Regions from separate parts of the Homo sapiens genome. Here all the other regions are linked to region 2. Evidence: promoter capture Hi-C in 16 types of primary human blood cells and fetal thymus (Javierre and others, 2016). All regions are on one chromosome and are shown on one strand. The core of a region is centred on a gene start or on the middle of the fragment in contact, and the rest is flanking DNA. Distances in the headings are between cores, read along the strand shown.

Evidence for each region. Contacts are between HindIII fragments. The CHiCAGO score rates a contact against its expected background, and 5 or more counts as called.
Region 1: the fragment with the promoter of NME9 here is called in contact with the fragment with the promoter of DBR1 in region 2 in 4 of 17 cell types (erythroblasts, non-activated CD4 T cells, naive CD8 T cells and 1 more); the score reaches 7.1 in erythroblasts.
Region 3: a contact is called between the fragment with the promoter of MRAS here and the fragment with the promoter of DBR1 in region 2, in 4 of 17 cell types (non-activated CD4 T cells, naive CD8 T cells, naive CD4 T cells and 1 more). The highest score is 6.3, in non-activated CD4 T cells.

The regions. Positions count from the first base shown.
Region 1 is chr3:138,327,709-138,331,480 of GRCh38, reverse strand. NME9 (NME/NM23 family member 9) reads left to right here and starts at 1,630. Exons shown (of 11, transcript NM_001349018.2): 1 at 1,630-2,178. The coding sequence starts at 2,146. It overlaps LOC124909438 (a long non-coding RNA gene), which reads right to left and starts at 1,548. Exons shown (of 2, transcript XR_007096113.1): 1 at 1,311-1,548. The HindIII fragment of the contact is 16,828 bases long and covers 1-3,772 here.
Region 2 is chr3:138,172,888-138,176,815 of GRCh38, reverse strand. It overlaps DBR1 (debranching RNA lariats 1), which reads left to right and starts at 1,895. Exons shown (of 8, transcript NM_016216.4): 1 at 1,895-2,217; 2 at 3,190-3,314. The coding sequence starts at 2,021. RefSeq lists an enhancer at 1,980-2,189. The HindIII fragment of the contact is 14,113 bases long and covers 1-3,928 here.
Region 3 is chr3:138,347,098-138,350,602 of GRCh38, reverse strand. MRAS (muscle RAS oncogene homolog) reads right to left here and starts at 2,024. Exons shown (of 6, transcript NM_001085049.3): 1 at 1,836-2,024. RefSeq lists an enhancer at 1,557-2,512. The HindIII fragment of the contact is 4,446 bases long and covers 455-3,505 here.

The DNA of each region.
Region 1 (3,772 bases), core at 381-2,880, 150 kb before region 2:
GAGGAATTTAGCATCTGATTTGAATTTTATTTTGGAAACTAAATTCTAAGGGAGATTCCACACCATTCAAGAGCTTCAGCAACCACCACCTTGTGGCAATGAACATGATTTGCATCTAGTCAACTCAGTTTGCAATGTGGTGTCTTAAGGACTGCCTGTGGCTCTGCGTAATATTATCATGGAACTGAATATTGCCATGGGACTGAATGCAAGAAAAGAGTAGGTGGATTCGGAGCTGAAGTGGGAGAAGGCAGGATGACAGGTAGGAAGATGTTCGGTCTCCAGTATACCCATCGCCCTGTACTTCACAGAGGGTTGCTGGGTACCTCATGGCCAAACAGGGTATCAGCACTCCCTGGATGGAAATCATTTGGTGTATGCTTCACTTAGGAAGAATTGATATCTTAACAATATTAATTCTTCCTATCCATGAACACGGAATATTTCTTCATTTATTTAAATCTGTGAGATCTCTTTCATCAGCTGTGATTGATTCCTAGTTTAATTCTATTGCAGTCAGAGAACATACTTTGTTCTATCCTTTTAAATTTGTTAAGCTATGTTTTATGGCCTAGATTGTGGTCTATCTCAGTGAATGTCCCATGTGAGCTTGAGAAAGAATCTATATTCCGCTGTTGTTGAACTAAATATTGCATAAATGTCAATTAGATCAATTTGATATTTTTCAGTTCAACTATATCCTTGCTCATTTGCTTCTGCTGGATGTATTAATTACTTTTTAAAAATGGTATGAAAGCATTCTATTATAATACTGAGTTTACCTATTTTTCCTTGCAGTTTTATCTTCTTTTGCCTCACATATTTCGGTGCTCTGTTTTTAAGTACATACATATTAAGTATTGTTATGTCTTCCCAAATAACTGATCCCTTTAACTTTATGTAATGTCCCTGTTTATACCTGATAAATTTCCTTGTTCTGAAGTCTGCTTTTCTTGAAATTAACATACCTACTTCAGCTATTTTTTTAATTAGTGTCAGCCTGGTATAGCTTTCTCTATCCTTTTGCTTTTAATGTATTTTCTTGTGGATAACACACGATTGGGCTTTGTTTGTTTTTGAAATCCATTCTGACAATCTCTTTTTTAATTGGTGTAATCAGATTATTCACATTTAAAGTGGTTATTGATACAGTTGGATTAATATCTACAATGTCTGTAACTGTTTTGTATGTGTCTCACTTGACTTTCATATCTAATTTTGAATTTGTAATTTCATATTCTTTGCCTTAAAGAGAACGCTTGCAGATCCCTCAAAACCTGGAGACACCCCCCACCTTGCACACATTATACCGGTATGTGATGGTAGAAAAGCTGCACATCAGTCTTGGCAGGCAGGGCAGGAGGGATGCAGGGATTCACAGATGCGACTGTGCAACGCACAGATGCACTGGGTCTTTGCTTGGTGGGTTCGAAGCCTCCAGACGCTGACAAACACTGCAGCCAATGAGTGGGTTCCTATGGTCCGATATGGAGGGCAAGGGGCGGGACTCCCTCCTGCCTCTCCCTGGCTGGGTTCAGAGCCTCCGCGGAGAGACTGCGTTGGGCCCAGAGTGGGCGTGGCTTACGTGTCCGCCGGCTTTCCTGGCAGGCCTGGCGGGGGGGCCAGGTTGCCATGACGACCGCGGCTAGGTCGCGGCAGACTCGGTTGGTGACTCCGGGCGCGTCGAAGATCTTGTACCTGTCGTTCGCAGTGGCTCACTTTCCCAGTAATCCATAAGAACAGCAGGGATAACAGGGTCCCATGTCGTTTTTTTGTCAGAATTCCTCGACTGGCGACCCTGTGCCCGACAGGCTGCACCGCGCCCGGCGCACTGACTCCGGCCTCTGCGCGCGCCCCCTGGCCGGCTCCGGGGTGGGGAGGGGGCTTCGCAGATCCCCAGAAAACCGCCCGGCGAGCCACGAGCCCGTGGACTGCAGGCTCCGCTTCCTCGCGGGGTGTTCACTTTGTATCAGTGTGCTGATTTGCCGCCAGTTAGAAGCACCTTAAAAAGGGGCCGGGGGCCGTAGGAGGGGGGCTTGTCTGAAGGAGGCTCTGGGCTTGCTGATCCACGCAGCGGTTTGTCGCGAGGCTGCGGGGGAACGGCCCACGGCCGCGGTAACAGGGCTTCGTCTTCTTTGCAGAGCCATGGGCAGCAGGAAGAAGGAAATTGCCCTGCAGGTAAGCCTCAAGGGGCGCTAGCTTCCAGCTCTGGGTTGGGCTCGGGGAAGAGGAGGGTGATTAGAGCGGGGTTGCAGTATAAAAGTGACATTCTGTTTGCCAGCAGTACGTGACAGTGTTCTCAAACTTGAGTGATGTACCCTTCCGTCTTAAAGGGACAAAACTTATCTTGGAACCCCAGTGATGACAAATTTTACGCAAACAAAATTAATGCAAACAAAACTGAGTAGAAGCTGTTTACATTTATAGTGCTTATACAACCATAAAACCTAAACATGCATTAAATAAAACTATAAACTAAGAAAATACGAATCAACATAACTCGATGTGACCGTTATTTTGTTCTTGTTGAAATACAACTGCAGCTTGCACAGAGAATACAGTATAGGTTCTTTTGACTTTGGGCATGAGTCTGTAACTGTGTGCTCTGTGGAGACCCAGTTTTCCCACCACTGTTCTCATCAAATTTCACTTATTAACAAATATGTTTTGAGATATATTATGTGCTGGACATATGTTATATAGAGTGTCTTACTTCATTTGCATGTGGGACAAGTGAATTCAGAAGCCAGCAGCTGCTCTTCTTCTTGGTCCTGGACAATAGATAGTGGTTGATTCTGAAGTGATGGTAAAAACATGCAGGCATAGACCCTGGAATTAGGAGAGAGTGCTTGGTCATAAGGAGATCAGCTGGATGATCTGCAACATGGGAACATTTTAAAACGAACTTAAAATGCCTCATCATCAGCTGGCCCCAGTAAGATGCATACCAAGGCTACAGCGCCTCCTAGATAATAGAGCATTAGTGGTTTTGAGACATCTGGTTTCTCTCTTATTGTCCTCAGCAGGACCAGCAGTTTGCATGTGGATTTCAAAAGCCTAGTGGTTTAAAAAAGAGGAAAGGGGAAAGCAGCATCATTCTAAGGGTACCCCATGCTGGGGGTGGGAGGGGTGTGGGGTGGGGTGGGGTGGGATTTTTAGACTGGAAGTCAGAAGACCTGATGTAGTTCTTGTGTCCTCTATAGCCAACTGTGTCTTTGACTACATCACATAACCTCTCCAGGCTATAGCTTGCCCATCTATGGAATGAGGATGTTGTGTGAATTATCCCTAAGGGCCTTCTTCCAGCCTTGATATTCTAGGATTCTAGAGTCAGAAGCCACTTCATACGTGAATGTTCTGGTTGAAGTAAATTCTGATCAACTGGTCCTACCATTCATTGCTGTGTGACTCATTTCCTCAACTCTCTGGCCTCCGTATCCTTTACGTAGACAGGAGGGATGATACCTGTCCTGTAACGCCTGCAGAGCTGTGATGAGACTCCTTTAGACACTTCCTGGCTGGTCTGATGTTGTCTGTGGTGTCTCTAATGTTATTGCCCCATATTATGGTCATTTCATGTGTTGATGCCCTAGAGCTCCTATGGGGGTAATAACTTTTGTTAGCAATGTTGTTATTTTTTCATGTGTATTACTCAGAGCTCTGAGTACAATGCAGTACTCAAACTAAGTGCTCCCTCCTGCTGAAAGGAGGAGAGCGAGCAGCCTCCCCTCCCGTCTTCTACTGAGGCATCTGTGTAAAGGTCACCTCTCTA
Region 2 (3,928 bases), core at 646-3,145:
AATAAATTAAAAGATAAAGAATCTCTTTAAACTATTGGCTTCACTGGAAAAGAATCCAATATAAATCCTAAAATTGAAAAGGACTATAATGTTAAAACATTAATAAATGAGTTTGTACATTGGACATAGAACAAAATAGGATTAGTAAACTAGAAGAGAGGTTATTAGAAACTATCCAAAATAAAACACTGATAAAAATGAGAACTATGGAATAGAAATAAAAGATAGGTAAAATACCATGGAAAAATTCCAAAGGAGTAGGAAAAGACAGAAAAAAAAGCAACATTTAAGTAGATACTGACCAAGAATATTCCAAAACTGAAAAAAGATACCAAGCTATAGATTCAGAAAGCATAAATGAGTAAAGTTCAAAAAAAAAACCACCTAGATATATTTTATTAAAATAGCTTTAAGGAGTAGGGAGAGAAAGTAGAGAAAGAGAAAACAGTAAATAGCAAAGAAAAAGACACATTACTGGCTGGGCGCGGTGGCTAACGCCTGTAATCCTAGCACTTCGGGAAGCCGAGGTGGGCGTATCACTTGAGGTCAGGAGTTCGAAACCAGCTTGGCCACCATGGTGAAACCCTGTCTCTACTAAAAATGCAAAAAATTAGCTGGGCATGGTGGTGTGCACCTGTAATCCCAGCTACTTGGGAGGCTGAGGCAGGAGAATCGCTTGAACTGGGGAGGCGGAGGTTGCAGTGAGCCGAGATCGTGCCACTGCCTCCAGCCTGGGCAACAGAGTGAGAGACCGTCTCAAAAAAACAAAAAACAAACAAACAAACAAAAAACCCACATTACTTTCAGTGAAAAAAAACCTTAAGTTTATAGGTGACTTCTCAGTAGAAGATAATGCAAGCCAGAAGATAATAGAATGCTATTTTTGAAATGCTTTGTAAAAAAAAAACCACACACACACACACACACACACACACACACACACACTGCTTAACTGGTATTCGGTACTCAGTAAACACACCCTTTATGAATTAAGGTGAAACAAAGACATCTCTTTCTTTCTTTTTCTTTTTTTTTTTTTTAGACGGAGTCTCACCCTGTCACCCAGGCTGGAGTGCAATGGCACGATCTCAGATCACTGCAACCTCTGCCTCCTGGGTTCAAGCGATTCTCCTGCCCCAGCCTCCCAAGTAGCTGGGATTACAGGTGTGCGCCACCACGCCCAGCTAATTTTTTGTATCTTTAGTAGAGACAGGGTTTCACCATGTTGGCCATGCTGGTCTCAAACTCCTGACCTCGTGAGCCGCCCGCCTCTGCCTCCCAAAGTGCTGGGATTACAGGTGTGAGCCAGCACACTGGCTTCTTTTCTTTTCTTCTCTCTCTCTTTCTCTTTTGTCTCTTTTTTTTTTTTTTAGACGGAGTCTCGCTCTGTCGCCCAAGCTGGAGTGCAGGGGCGCGATCTCAGGTCACTGCAACCTCCGTCTCCTGGGTTTGAGGGATTCTCCTGCCTCAGCCTCTGAAGTAGCTGTGATTACAGACGTGCGCTACTGCGCCCAGCTAATTTTTGTATTTTTAGTAGAGACAGGGTTTCACCATTTTCCCCAGAGTGGAAAGAAATTTTTAAACAAACAAATATCTAGAAAAAAATTAATCTGTCGTCGGCCTACACTAAACAAACAGGAAAACTTAAACTGAGCTCTTCAGACAGAAGAAAAATGATTCCAAAGAGAAAAATGGAAATCCAGGAAGAAAAGAGTAAGGATGGAAAGAGTACATTTGTGGATGTATATACAAAAAAATATTGACTGCATAAAACAATAATTAAAAAAAAAGAAAAAAGGAAAAAAAGAAAATAAGTTCCCTGGGATCCCAGAATTAGGTTTGACCTTCCCGGTCCCTCTCTCGCGAGATCTGGAAACCGGAAGTGAATTATTTTGCAGGAGTCTACACCCAGGCGGTGGCTATACTTATTAAAGTTGGCGGGAGCTGAGCGATCAGTCGGTCCTGGGCTGGCTGTGGTGTAGGGCGTTGCAGGCAGCGCTCACCTCCTCAGGCCGGCAGAATGCGGGTGGCTGTGGCTGGCTGCTGCCACGGCGAGCTGGATAAGATCTATGAGACGCTGGCGCTGGCAGAGCGGCGCGGCCCGGGGCCTGTCGACCTCTTGCTGTGCTGCGGCGACTTCCAGGCGGTGCGCAACGAGGCGGATCTACGCTGCATGGCCGTGCCGCCCAAGTATCGTCACATGCAAACCTTCTACAGGTGAGGACGCGGCCGGGCCCGGACTTGGCGGTGGGGGGGTGGGACTGGGTTCCCTCTGCCACTGGCTGCCTGTTTCCCTTAGATCCTGTCTTTGTTCTCTCTGTATCTCTAATTGGTGCCTAACTGAATACAGGGGTGAGGTAGTGGGAGGCGGGAAATGTATTCAGTTCGGTACTGTATTCAGTTAGGTACCAAATTATGTCAGTTTCACTAGCACCCTATCTCATTAGGTGCTTAGGAAATGTCACTTTCCTTCTTTCCATACACATCTTATCCATTTCAAAGGGTGTCGAAGCCTGGGAGGGGATAACCTGGAGGAAGAAGCTGACAGGTTTAGATAGCTACCTTGTACTTGATAGGACTCTGGAATTAGTTCATTCAATGATCCTGAAGTTTTTACTGGGCCCCTGCTATGTGCTTGTTGTGGTTCTAGAAGATGAGGTTATGGCAATGAACTCGAAACAGTTCTTGACTTAATTGAACGGGCACTGACTTGAGGCTCAAGGTGGAAGCTCTTCATTCCTAAGGGCAAGGATGGATACTGGGCAATTCCTTTTTTTTTTTTTTTTTTTTTTCTTGAGACAGAGTTTCGCTTTGTTGCCCAGGCTGGAGTGCAGTACCGCGATATTGACCCACTGCAACCTCCGTCTCCTGGGTTCAAGCGATTCTCCCACCTCAGCCTCCCGAGTAGCTGGGATTACACCCAGCTAATTTTTGCATTTTTAGTAGAGACGGGGTTTCACCACATTGGCCAGGTTGGTCTCGAACTCCTGACCTCAGGGGATCCGCCTGTGTCGGCCATCAAAAGTGCTGGGATTACAGGAGGGAGCCACCGCGCCCAGCCCCAGGCAATTCCTTTTGAAAGAGCTTTTTAACTTTTTATGATGAACTCAGTTTCTTTTTTTTTTTCGGAACTTATTTGCTTTTCTGCTATGCCTAATTGTGGTAACTGACTTTGCTCTTATGTTCTAGGTATTACTCTGGAGAGAAAAAGGCTCCAGTTCTCACGCTCTTCATTGGGGGAAACCATGAAGCCTCAAATCATTTGCAAGAGTTACCCTATGGTGGCTGGGTGGCACCAAACATTTATTATTTAGGTATGTGATTGTGTTTGTGGATACTTTTTTTTCCTGGGATGGAAGAGCTTATCAGGATTTGCGTTAGTTGGACTGTGTCTTGACATGTATGGTGTTTGGAGAATGTCATTAATTTAAATACTTAATCGTGAAAATTTAATTAAGATAGTTAATTATTAAATGGTTGATCATGAAAATATGCCCTTCATCTAGTGTTTTAAGCACTAGCTAATATAATTGCAAAGACCTCACACACTATTTGTAGTCCCTTCATTTTTTCTTACAATTTTTATTGAATTAAAGACCTTAAACTTTTATTAATAGAAATTCTTAAGCATACACAAAAGTAGAGAATAGTATGATGAATCTCAGTACCTGTTAACCAGCTTCAACGACTATTATATTGCAATCTCCTGGATTTTTTTTTTTTTTTTTGTGGGAAGAGATGACTAGAGTATTTAAAGCAAGTCCAACCGTTAGATTATTTCACTTATACATATTTCAGTACATGTTTTTAAGTGATAAGGATCTTTAAAAATACTACTACAGTACTGTTATTATACTTAACTGAAGTAATCATTATCTATTGCCATGTTCGTGGTCAGATTTCCCTGCTTAATGTAAAGATGTCTGCT
Region 3 (3,505 bases), core at 775-3,274, 170 kb before region 2:
CTGACAACGCTGGAGACAATCGCTTGCTTCACCAAAGGGCCTTGACTACCGCCTACCCCAGTCCCGCCCCCAGCTTTAGGAAATGCCGAGGTCACATCTAGGGGGTCAGTTTCCACCAGAGCACGAGGCTTGCCCAACACCTCCCTCCCCAGAGGCTGGCAGACCTCAAAAACCCCAGAGCATGAAAGCCCCATGCCTCCCACCCCGGCAGAAAAAGGACAAACTACACCATAAACTACAGAGAGAAGCTAACTGGCTGCTGGGCAGTGTGAACAGACCTAAGGGTGAAAACCATTGCCCGAAACATTTTCAGCCCCACTCAGCAGGGACATGTGATTTACAGGAAATTAGGAGGTTTACAAAATGTTAGCAGCTCAAGTTTCTTCCCCGGGAAAAGAAGCAGGAGAAGCTCTAAGAACCGTATCCGAGAAAGTGCTTTGTTCACTGCTAAGCTTCTGACACGAGTCAGTTATTAATACCCACAGCTCACTGCCTCACACTTCAACCCACCAGTGAATGTCTATAGTGAATAATTATAAAACAATATATTACAAAACTCTAACACAGGCTGCACCAGAGCCTTCCGAAGCCCAGGACAGCCACGTGGCCAAAAGCATGGACTTCAGATATGATCTTGGGCAAGCTGTTGGCTCTTTTTCACCCCAGTTCCTCCATCCTTTACAATAAACAAAATCCTTCTGGAGGTGTCTTGTCAAGAGGTGTCTTGTCAAATGATGAGCAAATCCACTTCAAGTGCCTGGTCTTTGGAAGCCCTGTTGGTTGCTGTTATTACAGTGGAGTTTCAGAGCTCTTAAAGTCATATCTCCATCTTACTTCTGCTGCCAGACAAACCTCTGGAGGCCACGATTCCGAGCCTTGTCAGCCACCCTCTCTGGTCAGGTCCAGGACAGAGTGAGTCCTAGAGGAGCAAGGCCAGGGAGGTTCCACACCATCAGGGGCCATTGGGGAGTAGGGGCAATGGCAGAGCTCTATGATCAAGGCCCCAGTGGCCTTGATGGACTCTGTCCACCTCTCCAGACTCCACTTTGCCCCAGGCCAGAACAGACCTCAGCTCTAGCCAGAGTCTAACTGGGTGTCCAGTGTATACGCTGCGGCCAGCCAGACATTAACTCCTCTAGGCGGCCTTCTCTCACCTCCCACTCTGCAGTAGGGACCCCTAGGGGCTCCCACAACCCCTGGGCTTACCGAATCTCAGCACTTACCACACTGGCTTGTCACTTTGTGCTCTTGTCTTCCCCGCAGGGCAGGACTGGCACCGTGTCTGATGCCTCAGCCAGATCAGTTCAATGCATGAGCCCAGGCCCTAGTTGTGACCACAGCTCCAGCTCCCCAAACCTCCGGGGGCAGTGAAGGGTTGTTTATGAAGCAGGCTGCGTTTTATTATTCAGATGAATTTGTCAACTCCCTGGCGGATCCCTCCCCTCGTTAACGCCATCTTAAGGCGGGGGGGTAAAGAGTCCCCCACCCACCCACCCATCCCCCGCCGCCCCGTCCTGCCGCCCATCTATCCACCGGGTTCTCGCCCAGGCAGCCAAGGAACTGTAATTACCATGAAAGGGTCTCTCTGAGCGGCGCGCAGGCCCTCCCCACTGGGGTCTTGGTCGTGGCCGATTTCACGAACGCACACCGTTACGCGGGAGCCCGCGATGGGGGCAAAACGCCACGCACAGCCGGTCCCAGGGCGCACCCCGCAAGCGGAGAGCGCGGCCGAGCCCGGAGGGCGGCCACACCTCCCGCCCCGGAACAAAGCGACGGCCGGGGCGAGAGGCGGCGCGGCCGGGCCCCCTCCCCTCCAAGGCCGCCCGACCACTCACCGCGCGCTCCAGCCCCGGCTCGGCTACGGCACTCAGGCCGCCCCCTCCTAGCCTGCGCCGGTGAGGAGGCAGCGTCGCGCCCGCCGGGCCCCGCGGCCGCCGGACTGACGGCTCCCCGCCAGCCGGCCACTCCGGTCCGTCCCCGCCCCGGCGCCTCCTTAAAGCGACCGCGCCGCCAGCGTGCGCCCCGAGCGCCTAGCGCGCCGCGCATTCCTTATATTGCCACAGCGCCTGCTAAAAATAGAGCGCCGCTGCGGGCGCGCCAGTGGGGAGCCCGGGCCGGGTGCCTCGACCCTGTCGCCCCCGCGTGCACCCCGGCCCCCAGGACGCGCGCCTACGAAGTCCAGCCCACCCGCGCCGAGTCCCCTGGGCCCGGCAGGGCGCGCTAGAGCGCCAGGGGCTGGGGTCGGCGCCGCAGCCTCTCCCGCGGCCCAGCACTTACCCGGGTCAGATCCGTGGTGCCGGGGAGCTGGCTTTAAGGTGGACGCCGAGTGGGAATTCGACTCGGCCTCTTTAAGAGCCTCTGCGCTCCAACCTTTAAATCTCCGCTCCGGCCGGGCCAACTTCTGAGCCTAGGGACGCCTCCCCAGTCCTAGGCGAACCTCCGCCGCCACCTTAGCTGCATTCCCTTCGAATCCTGAGACGTCTTTCTTCCAGATCATGCCCCAGCGTCTCTCCCCGCAGGCCTTCTGGGTGCACCGTTCCAGGGCCCAAACTTCGTTGGGATGGATGCGACGGGGACAGGCGACACTCGCGCACCATTTCATTGTTTCAGTTCCGCTAACTCCTCTCCAGCGGCGTCATTTTCCCCCCGTTAAAAAAATAAAGATATAATTCAACACCATAAAATTCCACCTTTTGAAGTGTACAATTCAAGCCGGGCGCGGTGGCTCACGCCTGTAATCCTAACACTTTGGGAGGCCGAGGCGGGTGAATCGCCTGAGGTCAGGAGTTCAAGACCAGCCTAGGCAACATGGTGAAACCCCGTCTCTACTAAAAATACAAAAGTCAACCCGGCATGGCGGCACGTGCCTGTGATCTCATCTACTCGGGAGGCTGAGGCAGGAGAATCACGTGAACCCGGGAGGCAGAGGTTGTAGTGAGCCGAGATTGCGCTACTGCACTCTAGCCTGGGCAACAGAGTGAGACGCTGTCTCAAAAAAAAAAAAGTGTACGATTCAGTGGTGTTTAGCATATTCACAAAGTTTTGCAACCATCACCATGAGCTAATTCCAGAACATTTTCACCACTTCCCACTCCCCTCCCCTGCCCCTCACAAAAAGAACTACCCGTTAGCAGTCACTCCTCATTCACCCCTTTCCTCCGCCTCTGGGAACCACTAATCTACTTTCAATCTCTATGGATTTCCCTATTCAGGACATTTTCTATAAACGGAATCATACAACATGTGGCCTTTTGTGACTATGACTAGCTTCTTTCAGTAACCAATGTTTAATGATCTATTCATGTTGTAACATGTAGCAGTACTTCATTCCTTTTCATGACTGAGTAATATTTCACTGTATGTCTATACGTTTTGTTTATCCCTGCATCACTTGATGGATATTTAGTTTTCTGCTTTGGGGCTACTGTGAATAAAGCTGCTATGAATATTCATGTACAAGTCTTTGTATGAACATATGCTTTTCTTTCTCTTGGGTATATACCTA